Linked DNA regions of Homo sapiens: regions 2, 3, 4 and 5 are each linked to region 1. Evidence: promoter capture Hi-C in 16 types of primary human blood cells and fetal thymus (Javierre and others, 2016). All regions are on one chromosome and are shown on one strand. The core of a region is centred on a gene start or on the middle of the fragment in contact, and the rest is flanking DNA. Distances in the headings are between cores, read along the strand shown. Region 1 holds the start of DNAJC2 (DnaJ heat shock protein family (Hsp40) member C2). Region 2 overlaps ORC5 (origin recognition complex subunit 5). Region 3 overlaps ORC5 (origin recognition complex subunit 5). Region 4 overlaps ORC5 (origin recognition complex subunit 5). Region 5 holds the start of FAM185A (family with sequence similarity 185 member A).

Region 1 (2,911 bases), core at 173-2,672:
AAAATTTTAAGAATTCACTAACAAGAATTTGTCCTGAAAGCAATTTTCCAAGCAGCAAATGGGAATTTACTAATGCAGCTAAGCTGTAGTGGAACAAGCTCTCAATCTGAAACCAGACACTCTGGGTTTTAGACTAGGTCTGACAGTGGCTATGTGACCTGAAATGAATCAGGATGTCTTCACCTGTAAAATGGGAACAATACCTATTTATCTCATTCAGTTCCTAGGAAGCTTGAATGAGACCACAGAAACTCTCTGAAATTACAAACTTGTAGTAAAGGTATCATCTATTCCTGGGAAGTGGGGGTAAATCACTGTACATGTGTATACTAGCAATTCAAAAAAGGAAAATCCCTGAACAACTTATTTTAAGATTTCCTCCACCTTACACAGGAGAGGATTAAAACACTGTCAAAAAGGTACTACCTGTGTAGTATGGGTGTGTGGCTTTTAAGAACACTGCCTTTTAAGCCTTTTGCTCTAGTTGTAAGAGGCACACGGAGACACATAAATGCAACACGTGCCATGGGTTATGTTCAAAATCACATTCAACAAGCGCCTATGTGACTGGCTATGGGAATTACTGTAGATCACTGGACCTGAAGACTCTTAAGTTTACAATACTCATGACTGTCCTGGGCCATAAAACTAAAACCTACAGCAGCAGGACAAGTTTCACTTGTAATAACTGCCTTTCAAAGTCTACGCGGATCTTTTCAGCAGCACAGTCTTTGAACACCGAGTATGAGGAGCGGTGTCTGAGTTGTGACATTTAAAAAACAAGGCCGGAGCAAACGTAGAGAGGGAGAAAGTTGTTTAAGAGAGCGCCAGTAGCAAAGCTTTGTACGACCCCAGGCACGTGGGGTGCTCGCTGCGCGTAGTCTTTCCACCGTAGGCAAGGAGATGCTTATGAGAACCTTTCTGGGGTGCTGGGGGGTTCCGTCCCGAAATGCTCAGCCCAATCCATGAGTCAGCAGCGGCGAGAGGAGGAAGCAACGGTAGGAGCAAAAGGAAGGCACCCCTCACCCTCCTTCCTTCTAATCTAGGGTAGGATTACTTTAAAACACGGAGCAAAAAGGCACTCGTCACGGCCCCATACGGCCCCGGGGCTAGTCGCCAGGGTCAAGGGTAGAGAGAGCCCAGGGTTGCCGAGGCGGAGGACTGAGGCAGGGGCAGCTGAGGTGAGAAGGAACCGAGGTTGGGTGGGCACTTACCAGAGGTCAGAGCGTGGGTGATGGCGGTGCCCCGGCCGTCCGCGGCGCTTGGCAGAAGCAGCATGATGGCGCCGGGTCTAGCCCGGTGGGCGCAGCGGCTCACGTCCCGGGCGGAGGGCGCTTAGGGTCCCCTCCAGCTCTACCTCTCACTCCGAGCCTCGCGCCTTGGCTCTAAGACGCCCAGGAACCGGCGCATGGAGACGACCAGTAAGCACTTCCGGGATGGATCTTTCGTGGTGTGGAGGCCAGTCTCACACCCTCCCACCCCCGCCAACGTGTGCGGTAACCTAGTTCTATACTGACTGAGATCCGGCTGGAGACCAAGTCGCACGAGAGAATGGTTCCTAGGCGCATCAGTTTTCCTGTAAAAAGGATTATATTCCACGTCCCAGTGCAATACATAGAACATAACCTTTAAAAGCAGTTCTTTTTATATTATCTTTAAGTTCTTACTGCTTTATGTATTAATCTGAACCTAATCAGTGATTTTCCCAGGAGCGCTATACTTTTAAGTAAAAAATGAAAATACCTGTATGAACCAGTATCGACGACTAGTATATACATTTGCGGAGAATTACGTACGTGTATTTGTGATACATTTGTGTTTAACTTGATGATGATAATAGCAGCTAATATTTGTCGTGCTATTACTAATTTACCTGCATTATATCTTTTAATACTCGCTTGGAGAAGAAACCTCTCTCTAGTGTGTTAGATTGTATTCCAAGGCCAGCAATATTTTTACCTTGTTCTAATGAAGTTTTTATTCAAGATATTCCCAATTATAGGACTCTGGGACTTAATTTTTTAATGTATAATAAAATCAATTGTATTCCTACTATATGCTTCCTTCTAAGACTGCAGTCAAAAGCAAAAACTAGCAAAAACAAACAGTGGGTAAAGGCTCACCCCCAACAGCAGTATCTGAAACAGGTTCAATAAAATAAACTTGATATGCCACTCTTTAGCAAGGACCACCAGAAATTAGTAAATTAGAAAATAACTTACTAATTTCATTATATTTTCACAATTAAAGTTTTTAAATATATTATATATATATATATGTATATTTTTTTTTGTAGAGACAGGGTCTCACTATGTTGCCCAAGGTGGTCTTGAACTCCTGGCCTCAAGGGATCCTCCTGCCTCAGTCTCCCAAAACTCTGGGATTAGAGGCGTGAGTCACTGTGCCAGGCCAATTAAATACATTTAATTGGTCTGTATATCTGCTGCATGATAAAATTGTCACTTCAAAACTGACTTTTCAAAAATTGAACTAAGGGAGGCTGAGGTGGGAAGATCGTTGAGGCCGGGAGGTGGAGGTTGCAGTGAGCTGAGATCACACCATTGCGCTCCAGCCTGGGTAACAGTGAGACCCCGTCTTTAAAAAAAAAAAAATTGAACTAATCTTCTGCCCCAAAACCTCTTCCTGATCCCTACTAATGCAACCACTGTTAAAACATGCTCCAAGGTGCAAAGTAACCTGACTCCACTTTCTTCATATTAATATATTTTTTTCCTCACACCTCCTCCCATTCAATTTTACCATTAACTCTAACATGGGTTTTTGTTTTTTTGTTGTTTTCTTTTCTGAGACAGAGGCTTGCTCTGTCGCCCAGGCTGGAGTGCAGTGGCCTGATTTCGGCTCACTGCAATCTCTGCCTCCCAGGTTCAAGCGATTCTCCTGCCTCAGCCTC
Region 2 (2,911 bases), core at 202-2,701, 840 kb after region 1:
CTAAGCATGGTGTAATAACACTAAAGTGTCATAATGTTAACAGCAACTGGTACACAATTTGGCTAATCAAAATAAACAACTGACCCTTGAACGACATAGGTTTGAACTGTGAGGGTCCACTTGTCTACAGATTTTTTTTTTTTTCCAACCAAACACAGATCACAAACACAGATCAAAAACAGTACTCAGGGAATACAAAACCCATGTATATGGAGGGCTAACTTTTTTACACTCAGGTTCTGCGGAGTTGATCGCAGGGTTTGAGTGTGCTAGGATTTTGATATATATGGGACTGGTCCTGGAACCAATCCCCCAAGTATACCAAGGGGCAACTGTATTGATTTTCTCTTTGGTTGAAACACTAAAATATGTTTAATAATTTATGAATAACAGTTAAAAAGGCAGTATCATAAGGTTTGTTAGAGAAAACAAACCTAAATGAATATCAAAGTAGTACTTCATTTTCTCCTATCTTAAGCTACCTATAGAACTAGCCTCTGAAAAATACAGAAATATCAATTCATAAAGCATCTTTCCAGAAAAGATCCCTGAAAAGAATATTTTTCAGGTGATTTAATAAACTTTCAAGAAATATGCCACTTACAAACTTTGAAACAAACACAAACAACACTATCTGAAGAAAAAAAAGAAAATGAATATCTTTATTCTTCCATGTTCTATATATAGAGAAAACTAAGAACATTGTGCTATTTTTCTCTAATGTTTAAGGATCCTTTTCTCTATTATTACCAATAGTAGTATAAGACTTAAACCATACTACACATTTATGAATATTATTTTTTAAAAAGCTGTAACCTCACCCTAAATAAAATCATTCCACAGTGAAACTCGAAGAACTTTAAAAAATACCACATTTAAATATATATTTCTCTCTTTACATTTTATTTTCCCATAAATATTTTCCCTAAATTTTTCCTTCTTGTACTTTATAATCTACTTTGAAATGGCTGTCAGCACAGATTCCCACAGGATTCGAGTGCTAAAGAGTGGTAACTGCAAGTTACTTTCCAGGAAAGACCGAGGAGGATTATCTGCTCCTAAGTCCATCTCACTCAGGTGCGTTTTCCTGACCCTCTCCTCTCTGTAAGTCTCTTGTGTTATCATTTCCCTCAGAAGCCAGGGATCCCAAGACATCCAACTTCTAGAGGAATGTTAGTGATAAGCTTGAACTGGAAAAACTGTTTTGTTTTTTCCCAGCTGAGAAGATGTCTGAAATCTACATGTAAATCAGAGGAGCCCTGAAATCTGAAACTTTCAAAAACATACTAAATGTGAGCATAATTTTAAATGATTGCCTTCTGTGTTCTGTCGCAAACACACACTGAAACTAAGTAATACTTTTCAGGGCAAAAACAGAAAAAGAACAAAGTGAAGAAAATGTGCTAAGAGACATAGAATCTGTTACTTTGAAAGTGACTGTTTTCCAGCCTCAGATATATTACTATTTTCTGTTAAATGGAGATAAGATCTTAATTAATTGAAGATTTCTAAAAGGGAAAACAGAAATTCTTGTCTCTTTCCTTTCCCATCCCTACAATTAAAACAAAAAAGGTCAAAGAAAAATTAAACATCAACATTTTCCAAACTGTCTATGAAATATAAACAGCTATTCTAATTGTTAAAAAAAAAAAATTAAAAAGAACCATCTATACAAAGATTACCAGCTCAGGGTCAGTGGTTAATGAAAGACCTGCAATGAAAGCTTCTGACCATACTCAAATCCATCTAGATTCTAGACCTCAATCACCGCATACATAAAACTTGAACAAAATCTGTTACAAAATATTAACAGAGTTGTAAAACTGCTCAAGTTTTTACATCTCTTTTCTGTTATTCCTCATTTTGATTTTTATGGAGTTCTGCATTTTCTGCAATTAGAGAAAAAACAAGGAAGAGTAAGAAGATCTGAGAATGACATTTTTCTGATCAGATCAAACAATCAAAGTTTGTACTAACCCACAGACATCTACCTTCTTATGGTATGTTAGTCTCTAGAGGCCATATGCAAATTCCCAGAATAAAATTTCAGTTTCTAACCTATCTCATACCATTTCTACATGGAAAACATTAAAATACATATATACACATATATGTATACACACACACACACACACACACATATATATATATTCAAGCAAAATGTTCATTTACCAGATGTCTGAGCTCTTTCAAATCTCGACAAACAGTGTAGAAAACTCCAAGAAGAATGTTAATGTAGGCAGCATAGAAATCAGCTGAATACTCTGGAGGATGATCATGGGACAGGATCTTTTGAAGGTTGCCTGTTCACAGGACACAAAATAACTTATAATGATTAACATAGTACACTAATCATATCTTCAAGCATTTTATAACAAAGGTATTAAAAAAAAAACACCCAGACCCAGCAACAATTAAGGAATAATAAAACTATTACAAGATTAGAATACAAAAGTGTGATTTGTGATATAATAAAAAATATATATTTGATCTTCACTGCAGTTCCTGGCACAGAGCTTCTAAAAACCCTCATAATTCCCTGAATGAGAAGGATAAGAGGAGTATCTTTTGTTACTCATAATAAGTCCTTTTAAAACATACCTCAATTTATACTAATGAGGTGTTTCTTGATGGGTGATATGGTTTGGCTCTGTGTCCCCACCCATATCTCATTTGAAATTTTCAGTGGAGGAGGGGCCTCGTGGGAGGTGATTGAATCATGAGGCAGACTTCCCCCTAGCTGTTCTTGTGATAGAGTTCTCATGAGATCTGGTTGTTTCAAAGTGTGCAGCACTTCCCCCTTCATGCTCTCTCTCCTGCTGGCCATGTGAAGATGTGTTTGCTTCCCCTTCACCTTCCACCATGATTCCAAGTTTCCTGAGGCCTCCCCAGAAGCAGAAGCCTGTACAGC
Region 3 (2,911 bases), core at 108-2,607, 830 kb after region 1:
GAAGTGATAAGGATGAGTGTGGGCCTTCTTTGAGTATACTTTAAAAAAAGTAGTTTTAGCTTTTGAAGTATTCTTTGATGCCCATCTCTCACCTGTATAGCAATCAACAAGTTTAATTTTCCCCTTTCTCTTTTCCTTCTTTTCCCAATTTTTAAGTTGTAATATTCCTACCTTGTCAGAATACATAATATTTACATACTATTCTTCTACTCTTATTTCCACCTTAATTTTAGTTTGGAGCTAAGCTTAATTAAATTCAATGTTCATCATCAATCCTTTTGTTAGTTTCTCCAGTCATCTCTTTTTCACATCAAGGTCGTCCTAAGAAATGTCTTATGAGTAGTGTTCTCTGAGTTCTTCCATGTTTAATATTGTTTTTCTCTAGCCTTGATAGTTCAATGACAGGTTTGACTGAACATAAAATTATTTGGCTTACACTTCCTTTCTCCTTGAGTTTCTTGAAATTGTTGATCCATTTGTTTCACTTTTTCACTGACTTTCCTTTGTAAGTGACTTTTATTTTTTGCCTGAAAGCTCAGAGGTTTTTTTCTGTTATTTTTAAAGTCTAAATGCTTTCCAAGAAGTCTCTGTAGTAGGCTGAATAATGGCTCTGCCTCCAAAGATACCAAAGTCCAAATCCCTAGAACATGTGAATACATTCTTATGGGGTAAAAGGGACTTAGCAGATGTGACTGAGTTAAGGATCTTCAGATAGACATTACACTGCATTATCCAGATAGGCCCAATAGAGTCAGAAGGATCCTTCTAAGAGGAAGACAAGTCAGAGAGAAGAGAAAATGCTACACTGCTAGCTTAGAAGATGGAGAATGGAACCACAAGCCAGGGAATGAAGGCAGCCTCTAGAAGTTAGAAAAGGCAAAGAAATAGATTCTCCTTGAGAACCTCCAGAAGAAAAGCCCTGTGGACCTGTTTTAGACTTCTGACATACAAAACTGTAAGACAGTAACTATGTGTTGTCCTAAATCACTAAATTTCTGATAATTTGTTACAGTACAATATACTAGTACAGTTTCAGAATTGATCATTCTGGATTAATTGGGAAAATGAACTGTTTTAATGTGTAAAGCTAGGTCTTCTATTTCTGGAACGTTTTCTTGGATTATAATTTTAGATCTTAACTCCAATCCATTGTTCTTTTCTGTCTTCAGGAGCTCCAATTAAATATATGTTAAATCTTCTTTGTCTATCATATTTGTCACATCCTACCTGATTATTTTTACCTCTTTTTTTAGTTTTGTTCTCTTGATTATTTTCAGTCCTTTCCTCAATGTCTCTTACTATATTCTCAGTTGAATCTACTTTCCTTTGGATATCTTATTTTTTCATTTTCATTTCTGAGATAACTACTATTGCCTGAACTTTGCTCCTGAGTTTGATCAACTTTTATTTCACATCCCCCTGTTCTTTGTCCATTTATTCTAAGTTATTGAATTTCAAACTTAAAGAATGCTTTCCATACCTGAAAATGCTTTTTAAACAAACCTAAACCAAGTAAAGGTGTGGTATTGCAGTCTTCCTCTGCTTTGTTTTGGGTGTTAAGGGGGAAATGTTCATCAACTAAACTGTTTTATTCACATTTTCTGTTTCTTCCTAAATAATACCTTTACATGGCTTTTCCATGTTGTCTTTTATTCATTTTGAAATACCTAATGTTTGGCTTGGTCAGTAATAACAGGTGACTTTATGAATGCAGGGGTAAGGTTGCGGAATGGCACAATTACTTAATTCTAAAGTGCTCCCTTCTGGAAAAATAATGAAGTCAAGTTTCTTTAATATATGGTGCTATTATGAAAAGGAGGGATTAGCTTCTGATTTTGTCATTTCTTTTTTATTTGGGGGATGAGAGGAATCTTTAATTTCTATCCTTTCTTTCCATTCTTTTCCTTCATTACCAACTCTCAAAGGAATACCACACCCTTCTGAATCAACTACTTGTCTCTCCTCAAAACAGTACTTTCCCAAGACTATCATGCTAACTCTGGCCCCCATACTCTTAAAACAAAAAAAATACAAAAAATTAGACAGGTGTGGTGGCGCATGCCTATAGTCCCAGCTACTCGGGAGGCTCAGGTGGTAGGATCACCTGGACCTAGGGAGGTTGAGGCTGCTATGAGCTGTGATCTTGCCACTGCACTCCAGCCTGGACGAGACAATGGGACCCTGTCTCAAAAAAACAAAAAAACAAAAAACAAAATGTCACTTTGATTCTCCAGTAGCCAGTGCTCTAATCCTTCCAGCCTCAGAACTGTTCAATACTTTCTCACTCAGGGTTGAACTCTCTTTCTTCAAGTAATTTCATTTGTATTTCACCACTACTAGTCAACGTATCCCTTGTCCCAACAATCTTCTCTTTTCCTTTCAGTCTTTGTTTGACTTTTCACCTCAGCATGAGCTCCAGAGCTGGCCCTGTTGGTTTCAGTTGTTTACTTCACTACTGGTATATAAAATGAAGCTTGTAGCAATCTCTAACTCCTGTTAATACAGCAGGCAAGAGTTATGGGTGGTTCTATTAGCTCTCTTTATTGATATTGTGGACACAATTGAATTTAGGTGGCCATAATTATCCTATGGGACTAGAAGTCCTTTCATTATTATGTAAGAATCATTTTAACAAGCAAACAAGTTTTCCTACATTTAGAAGATCACAAGCTTTTCCATTCTATGATTTCTAAAAACTCTCATTAAATGAATTTTTGTTACTGAAAAAGGAAAAGGAGTAATAGTATCTTTGTAGTATTTCTGCTAATTAAGAAACTACCAAATTTTTACCTGAATTATAGGCTAATCAGTTAATTAAACTGAAATCAAACAAAATTATTAAGGAATAGTTAGTGATAGAATAAGGCATTCATGAGAGAAAAATGGTAAAAAAAATTGACTAGAAAGAAAA
Region 4 (2,911 bases), core at 265-2,764, 810 kb after region 1:
GAAAAAAACATAGTAAGATTATTAGGAAATGTTAGCATTCAAGCTATTTTCTATGATTTACATAACTTACCTTAATAGCATCAAGCATTACAGTCAAATATTACAGAAACACTGGAATGCTGGCACAGGACAAATGAAATGCAGAGAAATTGCAAAGGAAGAGCTCTTCACGTTTCTAATAATTTAGTATCCATGGAATTTTAAGGAAAACTGTCCCTTTTAGTCACCAAGTTTAATGTCTATAAAGATAATGCCCACACTCAAATCAATTTATATAAATATCTTACAGCTAGATTTTAGGATGTTACTCTTTATGTCTACAAAATTCAAATTGTTACCTGATCAATAAATGGATTAGATATTTTTATCTACTAGATTTCTAGTGTTATCTGACTAGCGTTTAATGAATGTAGCTACTTTTTGTAGAAATATAAATATTATGTAATATGCAAATTAACTTTTAAGGTAAAGAAATTTTATCATAAAGTCTTCATAAAATTTATTTAAAGTGCTTTTGGTTAAAAATCTATAAAAGCAGTTTGAAATAATGTATATTAAAAAAGGACATGAGTATAATTTTCCATTATGAAGTATTTCAAATATAGCCATGTAACTTTTTAAGAAAAGCCACTCAGACTGTATATACTAGGCCATATACAATATACTGATTACTTCTCCATAACTTAAGTTCCAAGTCTTGAGATTGTCTGACACCAATGTCATAACTAAATTTAATTGGGTATTAACAAAATTTAGTTATAAATATCAATCATTGCTTCAAACACTAAGTTCAAGGCATGTCAGAAGGAAATATTCAACAAACAGGTTTGTTATGACTCAGTAGAAAACACTTAAATATCTAAGTTATAAAATATTAAGAACTACTTAAGTAAAAAACTCTTATTTATTCACTTTAAGTACTTATTAGTATTCACTTTAAGTATTTAAGTATTAGTTCCTTCAGCACATATATGTCTTCACAGTAAATACATATATACACCATTAACTCTAAACATATAAAATAGAATCTGGTGGCTGCACCAGCACAAATGAAGGGCTGTGGAATCCACAGACACATCTTCATTTCTGTATTCTCTTTATCCAAGACAATGCCTGAAACATAGTAGACACTTAGTAAATATTTGTTAAATGAAATTTTAAGCAGAGAAAGATAAATTTAATTCCAACCATGGAAAAAAAATAAACACTGACTTTGAACTTGAAATGTGAATTAGATTAAAATATTTTTATTTATAAACGTTTTAGAATTAAATAAAAATTAACAACGTCTCCTCTTTAGAAAACTGAAAACTATATAAATTTACCACATATCTACCTGTATTTGAAGAAATATGCCAAAATCTATTTTTGGTGTAATAAAACGTTAGCTACCTTAACAAGTACAGTATAGCAAAAACATCTTCCTACAGCTATGGTGAATTACAGATGAAGTATTTGCTAAAAAAAAAATTTTCATAGATGAAACAACTAAATTATCATTCTGCTTTCTGACTGATGATAAATTCATTTGAGAAAAACAATTGGTTTGGATATATCCTACATATCTTATAAAACAACACCTAAATGAGTAGTAAGGTTGTCTAAATGCTATTACAATAAATAAAACCTCCGTAAGAAACGATTGTTGATTCATGACCAATAAGTTAAATCGATGTAACAAATAACTCCAAGTGTATCCATAGTATCATGACATGAGTTCATAAGCAGAGAAGGTACAAACAGAAAAGGTATATATTTGTATATTAAACTATGCTACAAAATGTTTATGTTCTTATAAATGAAAATAAATTTGCAAAAACACTCTAAATTTTTTATTATGTACAACTAAGTATGAAACCACTCAGAAATTAGGTATTAATTATGGAAAAATCCAACTTGTCAATATGGTACACAGAACTATTTTTTAAAAAGAACTATGCTCCTTTTCTAATCTTTCAGCTGTTTCTTGGTATTAATTCAGAATACATTATTTTATAATATAGTAATATTATTAAAATAAAACCTTTTAAATGGCAGAATTATAGTAAACTACTTTCAAAAATTATTTTCCAAAATGCAAATTGATCGAAGCAGATCAATGAAAATTAAAACATATTCCTTTTACAAGTCACTTTAGAAACCTATACCAATGATTTTAGAAATAAACTCTCCAGCAATTTTATTCTCTGGGAAAAAAATAAAGCAATATGGCTTTGAGATTTTAAAATAAGTGGTATCTCTGATAATCTTAAAGAACTGTACTCCTATTGCTCTGACCTAACTACAAGAGTATTTGGGTAGGGGAGGTAAGAATGAGTAAGAGGAGACATAGAACTATAAAAAGAATGAAACAGATAATTCGGAAATTCCCATATTTTTTTCTTTTAAGAAAAAAAGAATTAAAAAGCATAACTTGGCTTTAATATATTTCTGGAAAAAAAGACAATACTATTTCTTTAAAAGCTGACAAATGGTCTTCAAAATCATAACTGATCAAATTAAAAATTTAGAAAGAATACCTATAAACTTTACCCATTTACTGCATGTATTCCATTCTATCTTATGATGAGAGCAGAAAGGAAAGGAGAAAAGAATGAAATACCAGAATTAATGCTTTGTCACCCATGAAGTTCAGGCATACATAGAAGGGCTACATTTATCTTACTGGAATGAAAATTTTAAAAATGACCCAAGATAATGACTGCAAAATTGTACTAAAGGTAAAAACCAGGTAAGACTAAAATAATAATCTAAAAAAAAATTTAAAGTCATATTTAAGTTCAATAAATCTGAACATTAACATAAAATGTTAAATGTGCTACTATTCTCTTCACTTACTTGTGAGACTAATGAATAGAATTTTATTTAAAATTCAATAGAGAATGAAGAAATTCAGAATAATGCCAACTAC
Region 5 (2,911 bases), core at 202-2,701, 600 kb before region 1:
CACACACACACACACACACACACACCCCTTATAGGGTCATTTAGAACCATCTTTCTTCATTTTAAAACTAAAGAAACAGGTCTAGGTGACACAGATGAAGCAGTGGCAGAGCCAGGAAAATAACCTGACCCTTGTCCCTGCTCTTTCCACCGCACCATGGTGACTCTCTTTTTTGTGTCTTTTTTTTTTTTTTCACTCTAAAACTGAGGATCATTTGTAGTCAAAGAGATCAATGCTATTCTCAAAACAAGTTCTGATCTCTCATAATTTTCTTGGTAACTCAGAATCAATGTTAAGTACGTTGAAATAAAAATACAGTTCTTTACACGGTAATTTTGTAGACTGTGCACCACGGTCCCATCCATTTTCTTACTTGATCCTTACAAAAACCCTTTGAGGCAAGGCAAGGAAGGTATTATTATCTACATTTTTAAAGTGAGCAAATTAAAACCCAAAGTAAGGTCACTTAGGGTCAGGACGGAGCAAGTACTCTATTCCTATATTTGGAATATAGGAGGGAATACACTTCCAAAGAGGCAATTCCCTCAAAAAGCACCAATCTTGCTCTTTACTTTCTTACCAAGGCATTCTCCATGCCCTGGAGATGCCCTCACTAAGTTAGTGAAGCTTGGATGTTGACATCCACAGAGGTTACTCCTAGTTTGCACCTAGTTGTCATCTTAAAAAGCGCAGTTTCTTACCCCTTCCCTTGGTCCTGATCCTTATTTAGGCTCCTATTTTTCTCTTTGGGATTTGGCGTCCTGGGTCTCACTCCAAAGCTCCACCCTCTCCAACCAAGAAGTCGCGTGCTTGGTATCCAAGGTGACCACGCAGCTTTACCCGCGTTGCCCCTTCCGTGCTTCCCATTGGCCAGTGGACTCCCATGTACCGCCCCTCCAATAGCCAATGGTCTTGAGACAAAGGGCGCCCGCCTTTCCAGCGATTCTAACACCTACCCTCTTACCCGTGCTCCCCTGCGCATTGCCTCCTGGGAAATGTGGTTTCTAAGAGGCAGAGCTCTGCGACTTAGAACTACCTATCCCGTCGGCCTTAGCGAAAGGGGGTGGACTTAGGCAAGGGGTCCAGGTCAGAGTTTAGAGCTTTCAAATCCCAACTTGCCCCTGGGGATTGCGCGGCTGATGTTTAGAACGCCTAGTCAAGCCAACCGGCTCGCTCTTGTTTCAGCAAACCCTGACTTACGTCTCCTATTTGACTTGAGGCGGCACAGTGGCCAAGTCGATTGGCCGTGGCAAGTGACCCTCCCTGTGGCTGAAGTGTTCTGAGGACTGGCGAGAGAGGCGCGCCATGCTTGCCCCCTGCTCAGGTTGGGAGCTTGGCTGCTTCCGTCTCTGTCTCCGTCAGGTCCGACTGTGGGCTGGCGCTGGGCGCTGGGCTTGCTGGGCTTGCCAAGCCAGGCCGTACAGCTCAGGTGGGAGCGAGCGCTGGCCCGGATCGGAGACTGAGGTCCCTCCGCCTGGCCCGGGGCGCCGAACTCTGAAGGAGTGGACACTGCAGGTGAGCCCGTTTGGTCGGCTGCGGGCGCGGCTCCCGTGCCACCTGGCCGTGAGGCCCCTGGACCCCCTCACCTACCCGGATGGCGACCGCGTGCTGGTCGCGGTGTGCGGCGTGGAGGGCGGCGTGCGGGGCCTGGACGGCCTGCAGGTGAAGTACGACGAGGATCTGGAGGAGATGGCCATTGTGTCTGATACTATCCACCCCCAGGCGTCCGTGGAGGTGAACGCGCCCCTGAAGTTTGGCAAGTGAAGTGAAGTGAAAACGGGTTTGGGTCCCAGGGAACGCACAGTGAACTTAATAAATGTGGTCGACGTGCACTTTTAATTGGTCCTGGCTCTCTAAACCTAATTTACAGTTGGCCCCTTCGGAAATGCACCTTTTCCTCTGTTCTGTTCTTGAGTGTCCGAGTAGTATTTAAAAATTAGGTTCCCAATTATAGAAATTTTATACATCGAATGGAAACATGATTTGGTATAATCCAGGTCAAATTCTATTTCTGGAGCCGCTTGTGTTCTCCTTTATCCCGTTGTCATTAGCAAACTGGCTTATTTTTCAAGGTTGAAGTTTCTTGACAATTCATTCAATGGTATGGCAGTCCATCTACATTTCATCTTGCTCACAGCCTGGGGGTCTGTCCCAAAACAGCCCTGTCAATAGGATGTTCCGGGTATCACCTGGTTTGAGTATTTGGTTTTAGACGGGCGCCCAGCTTCTTACTGTTATATTTCCATTCTTTTTGGCCTAAGTTTTCCATGAGTAGCAAGCTTTGAAGAAAAACACATGGTAAGCCTGCCTAGGAAGCTTCAATAATAATGCCTGCAAGATACCTTTCTTAGCTTTTCCTAAATGGCAAGCCACTGTGTACACACACTTTTCTAGGAAGGGCTCCCCAGACTGTCATTCTTCCTGGGACTGATGGAAGATATTGATGATGATGATGATAGTAATAATAATAGCATTTAGCATTTTTAAGATCATCTTTTATAATGCTTAGAGTTGCCCAAATAGTAGATGCCGTAGTCCTCCCTTATCCACCGTTTGGCTGTCTCAGTTTGTTACCTGCCTCAGCTGTTGTAGGAAAATATTAAGATATTTTGACAGATCACAGTAATATAACTTTTATTACAGTATATTGTTATAATTGCTGTATTTGTTATTATTGTTCATCTCTTACTATGCCTAGTTTATAAATTAAACTTGATCATTGATATGTATACAGGAAAAAACATAGAATATATAGGATTTGGTACTATTTGTGGTTTCAGGAATCAAGTGGGGGGGCGGGTCTTGCCTACTTTAAGAGAAATCATCAATATTTATGTTAATTCCAAATTAAATATCAGCGTTTTTAATTTTTAAAATTTGTATACAGAGATGCCTGCAGTTACATCTTAAA

The links. The method cuts DNA at HindIII sites, captures the fragments that hold promoters and counts their contacts. A CHiCAGO score of 5 or more calls a contact.
Region 2: a fragment that was not itself captured here is called in contact with the fragment with the promoter of DNAJC2 in region 1 in 7 of 17 cell types (naive CD8 T cells, erythroblasts, endothelial precursors and 4 more); the score reaches 7.1 in naive CD8 T cells.
Region 3: a fragment that was not itself captured here is called in contact with the fragment with the promoter of DNAJC2 in region 1 in 2 of 17 cell types (naive CD8 T cells and activated CD4 T cells); the score reaches 5.5 in naive CD8 T cells.
Region 4: a fragment that was not itself captured here is called in contact with the fragment with the promoter of DNAJC2 in region 1 in 5 of 17 cell types (naive CD8 T cells, naive CD4 T cells, fetal thymus and 2 more); the score reaches 8.5 in naive CD8 T cells.
Region 5: a fragment that was not itself captured here is called in contact with the fragment with the promoter of DNAJC2 in region 1 in 1 of 17 cell types (fetal thymus); the score reaches 6.2 in fetal thymus.

The regions. Positions count from the first base shown.
Region 1 is chr7:103,343,345-103,346,255 of GRCh38, forward strand. DNAJC2 (DnaJ heat shock protein family (Hsp40) member C2) reads right to left here and starts at 1,423. Exons shown (of 17, transcript NM_014377.3): 1 at 1,215-1,423. The coding sequence starts at 1,278. It also overlaps a transcript of PMPCB not described here. RefSeq lists an enhancer at 1,366-1,605. The HindIII fragment of the contact is 5,590 bases long and covers 838-2,911 here.
Region 2 is chr7:104,186,079-104,188,989 of GRCh38, forward strand. It overlaps ORC5 (origin recognition complex subunit 5), which reads right to left. Exons shown (of 14, transcript NM_002553.4): 6 at 2,173-2,303. Among named protein-coding and RNA genes, the nearest start is that of ORC5, 20 kb to the right of the region's middle. The HindIII fragment of the contact is 539 bases long and covers 1,183-1,721 here.
Region 3 is chr7:104,169,667-104,172,577 of GRCh38, forward strand. The region is part of intron 8 of ORC5 (origin recognition complex subunit 5); the gene reads right to left. Among named protein-coding and RNA genes, the nearest start is that of ORC5, 37 kb to the right of the region's middle. The HindIII fragment of the contact is 2,228 bases long and covers 244-2,471 here.
Region 4 is chr7:104,153,502-104,156,412 of GRCh38, forward strand. The region is part of intron 12 of ORC5 (origin recognition complex subunit 5); the gene reads right to left. Among named protein-coding and RNA genes, the nearest start is that of ORC5, 53 kb to the right of the region's middle. The HindIII fragment of the contact is 9,851 bases long and covers 1-2,911 here.
Region 5 is chr7:102,747,903-102,750,813 of GRCh38, forward strand. FAM185A (family with sequence similarity 185 member A) reads left to right here and starts at 1,097. Exons shown (of 8, transcript NM_001145268.2): 1 at 1,097-1,756. The coding sequence starts at 1,306. It also overlaps the pseudogene RASA4DP. RefSeq lists silencers at 787-876, 917-1,086 and an enhancer at 820-1,114. The HindIII fragment of the contact is 1,652 bases long and covers 626-2,277 here.